2 separate regions of the Homo sapiens genome follow, and region 2 is linked to region 1. The links are contacts of gene promoters, found by promoter capture Hi-C in blood cells and fetal thymus (Javierre and others, 2016). All regions are on one chromosome and are shown on one strand. Each heading gives the region's core, a stretch centred on a gene start or on the middle of the fragment in contact. The rest is flanking DNA. Distances are from core to core; before and after follow the strand shown.

Region 1 (5,464 bases), core at 1,271-3,770:
ATTAATTAAAAAAAAACCCCGCTCTAATTCACAACCCTATCCAAGCTGAGGTGGGTGTCAATCTGTGACTGTAGAGGGCTTAATTAATGCTAATACACTCTTGATCATTTGGACTTAGGTGGGAATTCTATAGGATAGGGTATTTCACTGAACCACCAAGCAGGAAAACTGGGATTCTAATACAAAATCTTTTACTGGTGCATTGATAATGCTCTAACTCACTGAGTCACCAATTGCTCATTCCTGAAAAACAAAGCAAAATTAAATTAGTAGATCTCAGAGATCCCGTCTGTCTTTAAATTATCTATGTTCCTTTTATTCTATAAAAAGAAAGGTCAAGGCAGGAGCCTCAGCTCAGGAGAAGAAACAAGGAGCAGAGCAAGGGCAACTGTTTCTCAAGGAATAAAATTATTGCTCTAAAGAGAGAAAGTGAACTTATTTTATCCAAATAAACTAGCTTATACCTACGTGAGTGAGGCAGCAAATTACTACTTCCCTTTGCCCTGGATAAAGGGTTCACCAGGACCTGGACTCACTCACCTTTTAAAGGTTATAAAACCAAACACGTCTGACCCACATTTTACTCAACTGGTGCTAGAATTATTAACTAAATTAATGTTTATTTTGAAAGTCACTGATTAGATTAATCCACAAGTATTGAATTTTAGTCAATCTTGGTGGCCCGGTTTAACTGGATGTTTTGCTTAAAAGGAAGGCAGCAAGATGCAGGGGTTATGGTTTCCAGCCCCAGCTTGGTCACTTGCATTCTGTGTGTCCTTAGCTAAAGTACTGAATCTCCATGGTCTAACTTTCTCCTCTCTAAACTGGGAATAATTTTACAGTGGGCAAAGATAATTGAGAGAATAAAAAGAGATGTGATGAGTGTGAAAATTCTCTGTAAATTTGTCATAATGTCTATAAACATAATCGATAAAACATTGTATAACTGGGTCTTAATATTTTCTTAATGAAAGAGCTGGAAATAACTGTACTGGTCAATTTAGAATAAAGGTAATCTTTTCAGAGCATGCCTTTGTATACACACTTTGTTATTAGTGATCTAGTAATGTTCATAAATCCAGTTGTATTTAGATCTTCATGACCATTGACTATCAGTTCCCATTTCAGGTCTGCACATTGCAGTGGTTCTGTGCCCTGGGTCCATTCAGTGATTTCCCTGTGTTCCATCTTCTGTTGAATCCACAACTGTTGTTCTGTGTATAATTTCTCTTCCTTGCTGTGTATGATTACATTCTATTATTTGTAACAATAACAGACCAAAAACAATAGAAGCAGCCATGTCTGGAGGTGACTGGAAGGTGGAGAAGCCATAGATTTTCAAGCCCTGTGCCATAAATTATGTGAGATTGGCCCTTTCCTTAATAGTGCTGAACAACTTTCACTTGTGAGGTGATGCAGAGGGGAGAACTCTAATTTTTATTTCTTCTTTTGAGCGTCTCCGGTCCTCTTATCCTTATAAACAAATAACGGACTTCTATTTAATGTGAAGCCTGTTGCTTTCTGAACAGAGTCAAGGTGGCGTATCTTCAGAGTAACTAATGTCTGGGGTTTGTTTTGTTTTTCTAAAATTGTTCTTGAGCCAGCTGTGGTGTAAGTGGTAATGAACCCCAATGGGTATCAGAAGATCTCTGCTCAAATCCCGGTTTTACCGGCAATGAGCTGTGTGGCACTGACAGGTGTCCTGTTCTCCCAGAGTTTCTTTCCCAATTTGAAAAATAAAAAATGATAATCTTTATACTCCAGTCTCTTTTAATGATGAATATACATTTATATATATACTTTTATATATTTAATATAATATTTAATAGTATAAATATGTATTTATGTTATTATTATGTAATAATGTATGTAACACTCCCTGCTAATTCAGTTTGTCTCTTTGACATGTAAAGTAAATAATCACCTATTATTATAATAATGTAATAATAACACAAATATTATTATGTAATAACATATATATTTATGTATATTGTTTATATACATTTAAATATATATAAATATACATTTATTAGCTAATAATTTGATATATGTATGGTAATTCAACATGTATGAGTTATATTCACTATTTCATGTTTAGGCAGCTGTATTTTAAGTGAACTATACTAAATATTTGAAAGGCTTTTGTTATCAAGGGCTAAGTCTCCTATTTTTTGATATAGCATTACAATGTACATTTTTTATACACAAAATATAGAATACACTGATTTCCCTCAAGGTCATAAATTCCCAACTGGTCATTAATCTGAGAATATTGAATTTTGAGTATATTCTAACATAGAATCATTTACTTCAGTGTTTCTCCATCATCACAGCACATTGGAACAACCAGGGACTTTTAATTAAAAATACCTGGGCTCCAATCCAATACAATTAAACCAGAATCTCCTAGATTGGCACTGGAAAGAAGGAGTAGGACAAAAGAACATTTTATTTCTATCCATGGGCCAAAGTCCACTCAGAAAAAAAGTATAAATTGGATCTAGGTGATTGTTTACTTTACATGTCAAAGAGACACACACTAAATTAGCAGGGAGTGTTATAAAAACTTTGGAGTGCAAGCTCACAGCTGTCTTAATAAGAAGAGAAGGCTTCAATGGAACCTTTTGTGGTCCTGGTGCTGTGTCTCTCTTTTATGCTTCTCTTTTCACTCTGGAGACAGAGCTGTAGGAGAAGGAAGCTCCCTCCTGGCCCCACTCCTCTTCCTATTATTGGAAATATGCTACAGATAGATGTTAAGGACATCTGCAAATCTTTCACCAATGTAAGTCTGCCTTATGTTCCTCCAGCCAATTGCAAAGGGTAAGTTATTTGACTGCTATTTTTAGACAAAATATATTCCTGGAAGCACACTATTATAATAGATCATTGTAAAGCAAAATACTCCCTCTGAACTTCTTTGATGTTTCTTTTGTCTTCCTATTTTTTTTTTTTTTGAGACGGAGTCTCGCTCTATTGCCCAGGCTGGAGTGCAGTGGCACTATCTCCACTCACTGCAAGCTCTGCCTCCCAGGTTCACACCATTCTCCTGCCTCAGCCTCCCCCGAGTAACTGGGACTACAGGTGCCCTCCACCATGCCCGGCTAATTTTTTGTATGTTTTAGTAGAGACAGGGTTTCACCGTGTTAGCCAGAATGGTCTCAGTCTCCTGACCTCATGATCTGCCTGCCTTGGCCTCCCAAAGTGCTGGGATTACATGTGTGAGCCACCGTACCTGGCCTCTTTTGTCTTTCTAAGTCTGTCATTGTCAGAAATAGCGGAGTGAGTTGATGCATTTTGTGAATACAGAAACATTGGGGTCATTGTATTATATAATCATTTAATACAGTGGCAAAAGTTTAAAGTGCTGTTTCTCCTCTTTGTTTCACAGTGTTTTGCTATGATTTTTGACTGAAGGTGAAGGGAAGTGTGTGTGATTAGAAATTTCATCCAATAAGTTCTCTACTATAGTAGTCATGTGTTTTATTCAGAATGGTCATGAAAATTGAACTTCTCTGAAGATTCATTTGATGGCTGATGTGAAATAAATATCTGTGGGTTCAGGGCAAACATAAGTGCATGAAAGAAAGAAGTAATCAGTCAGGGCCCAATAGGTAGTTAACAGAATTCTTTTGGATTCTGAAGAAAGCCACTGTCTGTGGCCAAGGTTGCTGGAGAATGGAAGAAATTGTTCTTCCAGGAGATGCTGAATGTCCTGATTCTAACTTTGTGGTGCTTCATCGTTCCATATTGGTAATACCAGCAGTTACAAACTGGACTGGGCATTAGAATCACCTGGGGTGACACTGTAAATACAGATTTCTAGGGTTCATCACAGGACTGCTGTATCAGAATCCTCATGTTAAGAGCTTTACAAGTGACCCTGAAGTCTTTAGCTGGGTAGTGGCCTCAAGGTGGACATGGGGGATTGATTAATTGCTCAAGCATCAGTTTAAATTAGCAGAGATTCCAGTTTGGAGCTTCTACATATTACCTGTGGGACTCTGAGAATGAATCTGCAATTCTCTGGCCTCAGTTTCTTCATTTTTAAAACAGGTCAAATGAATGTGCTGAATGTGTTGAAGTGAGGATGAACTGTGTGATTTGTGTACCAATTGCCTGGGTCATTGCGTGGCACATCACAGGCCATCTATAAGTGGCAGCTATAACAATCACCATCACATTTATGTACAAAATTCAGAAATATCGAATCTATGTGTGGCAAATATGAACATTAAAAAATACAATGAAAATGTCAGTCTGAATCATACATAGTATTTGGAGCAAATAGCGACTTATTTTGCTGCTATTTGCATTTCCTTTCCCAGTTCTCAAAAGTCTATGGTCCTGTGTTCACCGTGTATTTTGGCATGAATCCCATAGTGGTGTTTCATGGATATGAGGCAGTGAAGGAAGCCCTGATTGATAATGGAGAGGAGTTTTCTGGAAGAGGCAATTCCCCAATATCTCAAAGAATTACTAAAGGACTTGGTAGGTGCACATATTTCTGTGTCAGCTTTGGTAACTGGGGTGAGGGGGATGGAAAACAGAGCCCTAAAAAGCTTCTCAGCAGAGCTTAGCCTATCTGCATGGCTGCCAAGTGTTGCAGCACTTTCTTCCTTGGCTGTGAATTCTCCCAGTTTCTGCCCCTTTTTTTATTAGGAATCATTTCCAGCAATGGAAAGAGATGGAAGGAGATCCGGCGTTTCTCCCTCACAACCTTGCGGAATTTTGGGATGGGGAAGAGGAGCATTGAGGACCGTGTTCAAGAGGAAGCTCACTGCCTTGTGGAGGAGTTGAGAAAAACCAAGGGTGGGTGACTCTACTCTGCGTCATTGACCTTAACAGTTACCTGTCTTCACTAGTGACGTCCTTGGAAACATTTCAGGGGTGGCCAGGTCTTCATTGCGCATCCTGGTTGTCAGCCCTCAGGTGGTGGAGGGAGATTTGAAGCACAGAGACAAGGGAGGTTTTGTGTATCTGTGCTTTGCCTGTATAAATGTGTTGGTTCATAGGGTGTAGGAATAAAAGGTCATTTAATCCTATTTTCTGCTCAATTTTGTTTCCTTGTTTTCAAATCAGAAATTATAAATAAGGGTCTTGAGTTCATTTTTGAAGAGTTAAAGAAGGTTTCCCCCATAGCATAAATCTGCATTACCTCCACCAGAACATTTCACCAGAGAACACTTGGAAAGTGGACATGGTGAAAGTGACCTCATCACACTTCATGAAATATGAACCAAGTTATATGTGCTTTCATTTAATTCGAGTTTTTTCATATGGTCATACTCACATGTCTGGAAATTCCTTCCAGGTCCATGCCTACAGCTCTGGCCAGCAATGACACTATGTATGGTTTTACTTGCTTAGGTATATCTCAGTACAGTTTTCATCAGTTCTTATTTCTCGGGAAACACAGTACTATTTGAAAACTGTCAGGATTAATTATTTCTTGTTAACCACTACT
Region 2 (5,464 bases), core at 1,415-3,914, 120 kb before region 1:
GGTAACAATAAAGAATAAATACATCTTGGTTCAACACTCAATGAAATACTTTATAAACATAGAGATATTAAAGTATTAAGTAGAATATTTATTGGTGTTGAAAGGTAGTTTCCACATCATATTGTTTCCACATTATATTATTTCTACAGTGCATTGTTTCTACATCATGTTATTTCCACAGCATAGTGCTTTCACAGCATAGTGTTTGGAGGAGAAAAACAGCAAGTAACAAGTCAAGTAACAAGTGTGATTCCAGGTTACAAATAGTTATATATAGAATGACTCCACTTTTGTGAAATCGGATGATCTATAAAAATCAGTAGAAAAGAAATATATATGAAAATTACCAGTGGTTATCTTTGGGTAATATTCCATATTAAAATTTTTTCATGTTTACCAGTATTTTCTAACAATTCTATGATGAAGTGCTCTTAAATGATAAAGGGTTGGAGCAGATGATTTGTAAAGTTCCTGCTGACTGACGTTTTGGGCACCTGTGATTGATGCCCCAAGTGACTTCAGACAACCAATGTTTAGTTGGGCTGACTGTGTGGCTTTTGGAGCCCAAGCCTTTGCTCACAGCTGCAGCCCTCTGAATTCCTTGGCACCCAATCACTGCTCATCTGTCTTGCCTCCCAGCCTGGAAGCTTCTGCTGGGTAGGGCCCAGCTGGGCCTTTGTCTGTAATCCATATGCTTAATCAAGAGCTGAGCAAAGGAACAAGGCTCTGCATGGTGCCAGATGCCATGCGGGCACAAAGAGATAAAAGGCACAACGCTAGCCCTAGAATCTTACTGGGACCCAGGACTCACACATAGTGCCTGGTGGTAGAACACAAGCTAAGAAAAGCAGAGGAGAGAGAAAGCAGCACAGGCTGGGCTGGGAAGGCAGAATGGGTGGGGAGGGCACCCCAAGAGGGGGCACAGCTCAGCAAAGATGAAAGCACCCCAAAGTCCTTCAGGATACATGCCTCAAACCTTTTCAAGGAGCTTTCACAATCCTTGCTCTACAGAATTTTTGTTCTTTGGCCCAAATGGGTAAAAATTAAGTCTCCTAAACAGAAGTCTTCCCTCTTATCTAACCCTAGATGATGCACCAAAGGCAGTAAGTATATTTTGCACAAAGACAATGAATTACTGTTTTGTCCACTTTCCTTACTCCTCCCAAAGCGGGTGATGAAGGTGGGGAGGGCCAGGAAGGGGCCTGGGGAGGGGAGGAGAATAGAGGGGCAATCAGATATTACACATGCAAATAACTCTCGCTGCTCACTCTCCACACGCACTGGATTCTCCTGCGGGCACCACCAGCCCCACTTGACAGAGGGAGGAAATGAGGCTCAGAGAGTTAAAATGACTTGCTCCAGAGTTACCTAGCCAGAGAGTAAGCAAGTCCACTCCACACAGCAGGGCCTTTCAAAATTAGACTGCTTCCTGCCTGTTTTCTCCTCATAACTCAATACTCTTCCCTCTGACCCTATACCTAGCCAAACTGTTCCTGAATACTCTTCCTTCTTTCCATGATGTCTCTATTCATGTGGTTGTTCCTGCCTAGACAGTCTTTCCCTTGTCTTTTTGTTGAAATTCTTCTCATTCTTCAGGATGCAGTAAATACCACCTCCTTTATCAAATCTTTCTAAATTCCATTATCCAGAGGCATACTTATACTTATTTCCTTTGGCACTTCTTTTTCAGCACTTTGTGGCTATCATTTGCTTTAAAGAAAAACACTACGCAGTAAGTTCCTTTAGTGTTTGGCTTCTAAAATTTTGTATGTGCTAGAAGATGCTCAAAAATGTTGGTTAATTAGAATCATATCTATGTGACAATAATATTACTAGTGATAATAAAAGCTAACTTTTATTGAGTGTTTTCAGGGTGTTGAGTCCTGTGCTAAACACTTTTTATTGATTGTCTCATTTAATCTTCTCGACAACACTGTGAAAAACACACCATTAATATCTCAATTTTACTGATAACAAAACTAAGGTCCTAGAAGGCAAATAACTTGTCCAAGTTTGCATGGTTATTTAGCAGCAGAGCCAGGATTTCAATGTAGAACCATCTGGCTGTCAAGCCTATGTTCTTAGTCATTTTGCTATAATTTCTTTTCTCTGAATTTGCACTTTCTAGTGCCAGCCATAGATGGGATATGAATCTCATGATCTTTGGACGCTTTACCAACTGGCCTTGGCCAAAGTTTCCAAGGTAGAAAACAACAAGTTTTACCTTTTCCAGCTGGGACCACTGATCCAACACATCCTTTGCAAAATTAAAGTTCTGAGAAACTGCTTGGACTAGGCACCTGGAGTCAGGGGGTCTGATGGTCTGAGTAGCACATTTTTGGTTTGGATAGCAGCAGGCTTCAAATCCCAGTCTGAAACTCCGGACCAAGGAGAAGGGTTGAAATCGGCCTAGCATTTGGGTCAGACAGGGAACCACCTAGGTAAATTGAGGAAAAGACAGGGAGTAATTGAGCAGCTCAGAGGGATAATCACTGAGATTGTAGTGCTGAGAATGAATCCATAAGGCAAACAATTTCCTTATGAGTACAAGCAACAGTCAGATCATTGGAGAAGAAGCCCATGAGCACAGATACTTACCAATTCCAAGAGGAGTTTCTATGGGGGGCTTCAGATGTTTGGAGGATGGTAGAGCTGTTGCCTTCTGTCTCCTCTGAGAACTGCTTACCTCTTATAGTTTAGTTGCCGGCTCTGGGGAAAAAGGCATTTCCTTGGTGCCAGCACAAACTAAGTCCTGGCTCACTTTCATTGGCTCTCAAGCCTAAAAGGCAATCTCTTTTGCTTCTGGGAGATAAAATCTATGGGCTGTGAGCTAAGTTGAAGCAACAGGTGTGCCTTGCTTTCTGATATGATGTCAGGAGAAATAGGTCACAGACTACTGTGCCAAGTGTGGTGAAAAGATGATGGACACAGAGTTTAAATAAGATTTTGTTGCTTACAAAATCCTGCACTGCAGAAAGGGAGAAGGGGGTTGCTCATCAGCCAGGTGAGGTAACCACACCCTGCCTCTTTAACCCACTGAGATGACAGGCCTTTTTTTTTTTTTTTTTTTTTTTTTTAAATAAATAGGCACATCGAAGGCCCTCTAGGGATTGCCTCTCGAGGTAGTGTAGGTGAAAGTCTCGTACTCAAGGTAGTGTAGGTGAAAGTCTTGCAACAATCAGGTAGGGAGCCAGATCTCATGATCCTCAGCGGGGGGCGGTGGGAGGGTCCACCTTGGAGCCTCAAATTAGCAAAACTAAAATTTGAAAGGGGGTGTGTATAACATATATTTAAAAGAGGTCACAATATTTGTTTAATAAAATATTGAAGATTTATTGTTTTGATAAGATTTTAACTTTATTTATAACTGTGTGAGGTGTAACTTGGTTACTGGTGGTTGAAGTTCTTCATCACAATTCCTATCCATGTTTCCAGTCGCCAGAGGGAGTAAAATAATGTAAGCTTTGGATGATGGGTTCACTTATTCGCATTCCAGAAATCTGAGATTTAATGGTTTCAATTTGATGATATTAACATTGTAACTATATCTAATATTAGAACTAAAATATTCCAATAAATTATCTAGTCCAAGTACTGCCTAAAACATCACGCTGCCTTTAAGATGAATAAACTCCTTATTGTGGTGCATTGGTTAGATATAAGTTTGGCTGCTTCAACAAAGACACAAAATAGTAAATTTGTTTCTTCAATTGACAGTCTGAGCATATGCAGTGAAAAGCTGTTTGTATTAGTCAGGGTTCTCCAGAAAAACAGAACCAATAGGAAATAGAGAAATAAAGATGAATATAGATACAGATATGTGAGAGGGACTTACTAGGGGAATTAGCTCATGTGATTATGGAGGCTGAGAAGTCCTATGGTGTAAGCTGAAGAACAAGAGAAGTTGGTAGTGTGGCTTAGTCCAAGTTTGAAATCTTTAGAACCAGGGAAGCCAATGGCCTAACTCTCAATTTGAGGCTGAAGGGCTGAGAACCTGAAGTTCTGATATCCAAGGGCAGGAGAATAAGGGTGTTCCAGTTCCAGGAGGGGGAGAGGTAGATAGACACACACACACACACACACACACACGGAAAGAGAGAGAAATTTTCCCTTTCTCAGCTTTTCATTGCATCTAGGCCCTCAGCCAATAAGATGGCGCCTACCACATTGAGGGTGGATCTTTCCCACTCAATCCACCTACTCACACACCAATATCCTTCAGAAGCACCCTCACAGGCACATCAAGAAATGAATACTTTACCAGATATCTAGGTATCTCTGAATCCAGTCAAGTTGACACCTAAAATCATCCATCACACTGGTTTAGTATCTTCACCCTTTCAGGGACCCAGATTCTTTCTGTAACGTTGCTCCACCATCTTTAGGGCATTTCTGAAACAACTTGCCATCACGTCCATATTCCATCCAGTGGGACGGGAGAGTGGTGAGGGGAAGAACATTCCCCTTGCCTAGGTGAATAACTAGAAATTTTTACACATTACCTCTGCTCATATTCCATTGGCGCAGACTTAAGTTATGTGGCTTCAGAAAGAGTCTGGGAACTGTGATCTTTATTCTGAGTGCCTATATGCTCAACTAAGAACTGGAGATTCCATATGCATGAGAGAGATGTGGGCATGAATACTGAGAGACAACTAGCATTTTCCATCACAGTCTATTCATTGACTATCCATGAACACAACATGGAACAGTTTTCCCATTTATAGAATATTCTCCAAGAAGCATAACCTCTAAGTCTCACAGAATTGCTACATCTAACTCAAAATTCAAGATGGAGGGTATTGCTCAGTTCTCTTCAACCAACAGGGATGGGGTCCCTGCCATATGGCAAACTAGAAACTAAAACATAAGTTATCTCTACTCTCCAAACAACCCACTCTTTAGGTCTGAAGTGGGAACCATAAAATTGCATGGAAAACTCCAAGACTGGAAAGAGAAAAATGAGCATTACCCAGCTGACTTGGGCCCAGCAATACCCAGTTGTCAAATCCTGCTGGGCAGGAATGGTGAAAGCATACATCCTGGCAGTGTTTGGGTTCTCAGCTCACTTGGCAAGTACTAATTCTGCTTTCTGGGAGGCAATCTCACCTTTGCTGTCATCTCGATATTTGGCTTGCCTTCTGGAAAGCCATTTCTTGTTTGTGATCCTCTTTGGCCATATCTGAAGTGGCACTGGTGAATATGCCCTTCTTGAGGACAGCATGGCTTTTGTAGCCCACCTCATGCTGGTACAGAACTGGGGTCTCAGGAGTTCTATTATGGGTCAAACTAGTCTATGTATCAGAAAGTCCAGACTTACGAGTATTTTTTTTTGTCATACAATTTCCTCAAGCATTTGGCTTCTGGTCTACTTTCCTTAGATAAATTCCATGTGTAAATAGACATAATCAAATATTTTGTCAAAACATAGCTTGCAGGCCTGGAAAGTATGATCTTCTATATA

The links. Contacts are between HindIII fragments. The CHiCAGO score rates a contact against its expected background, and 5 or more counts as called.
Region 2: the fragment with the promoter of ACSM6 here is called in contact with the fragment with the promoter of CYP2C8 in region 1 in 7 of 17 cell types (total CD4 T cells, monocytes, non-activated CD4 T cells and 4 more); the score reaches 11.1 in total CD4 T cells.

What each region holds. Positions count from the first base shown.
Region 1 is chr10:95,066,553-95,072,016 of GRCh38, reverse strand. CYP2C8 (cytochrome P450 family 2 subfamily C member 8) reads left to right here and starts at 2,520. Exons shown (of 9, transcript NM_000770.3): 1 at 2,520-2,782; 2 at 4,326-4,488; 3 at 4,660-4,809. The coding sequence starts at 2,615. RefSeq lists a cis regulatory region at 685-705 and a promoter at 1-2,615. The HindIII fragment of the contact is 5,972 bases long and covers 1-4,561 here.
Region 2 is chr10:95,191,438-95,196,901 of GRCh38, reverse strand. It overlaps ACSM6 (acyl-CoA synthetase medium chain family member 6), which reads right to left and starts at 2,664. Exons shown (of 11, transcript NM_207321.3): 1 at 2,599-2,664; 2 at 2,225-2,437. The coding sequence starts at 2,416. The region is part of intron 3 of LOC107984257 (a long non-coding RNA gene); the gene reads left to right. The HindIII fragment of the contact is 2,815 bases long and covers 650-3,464 here.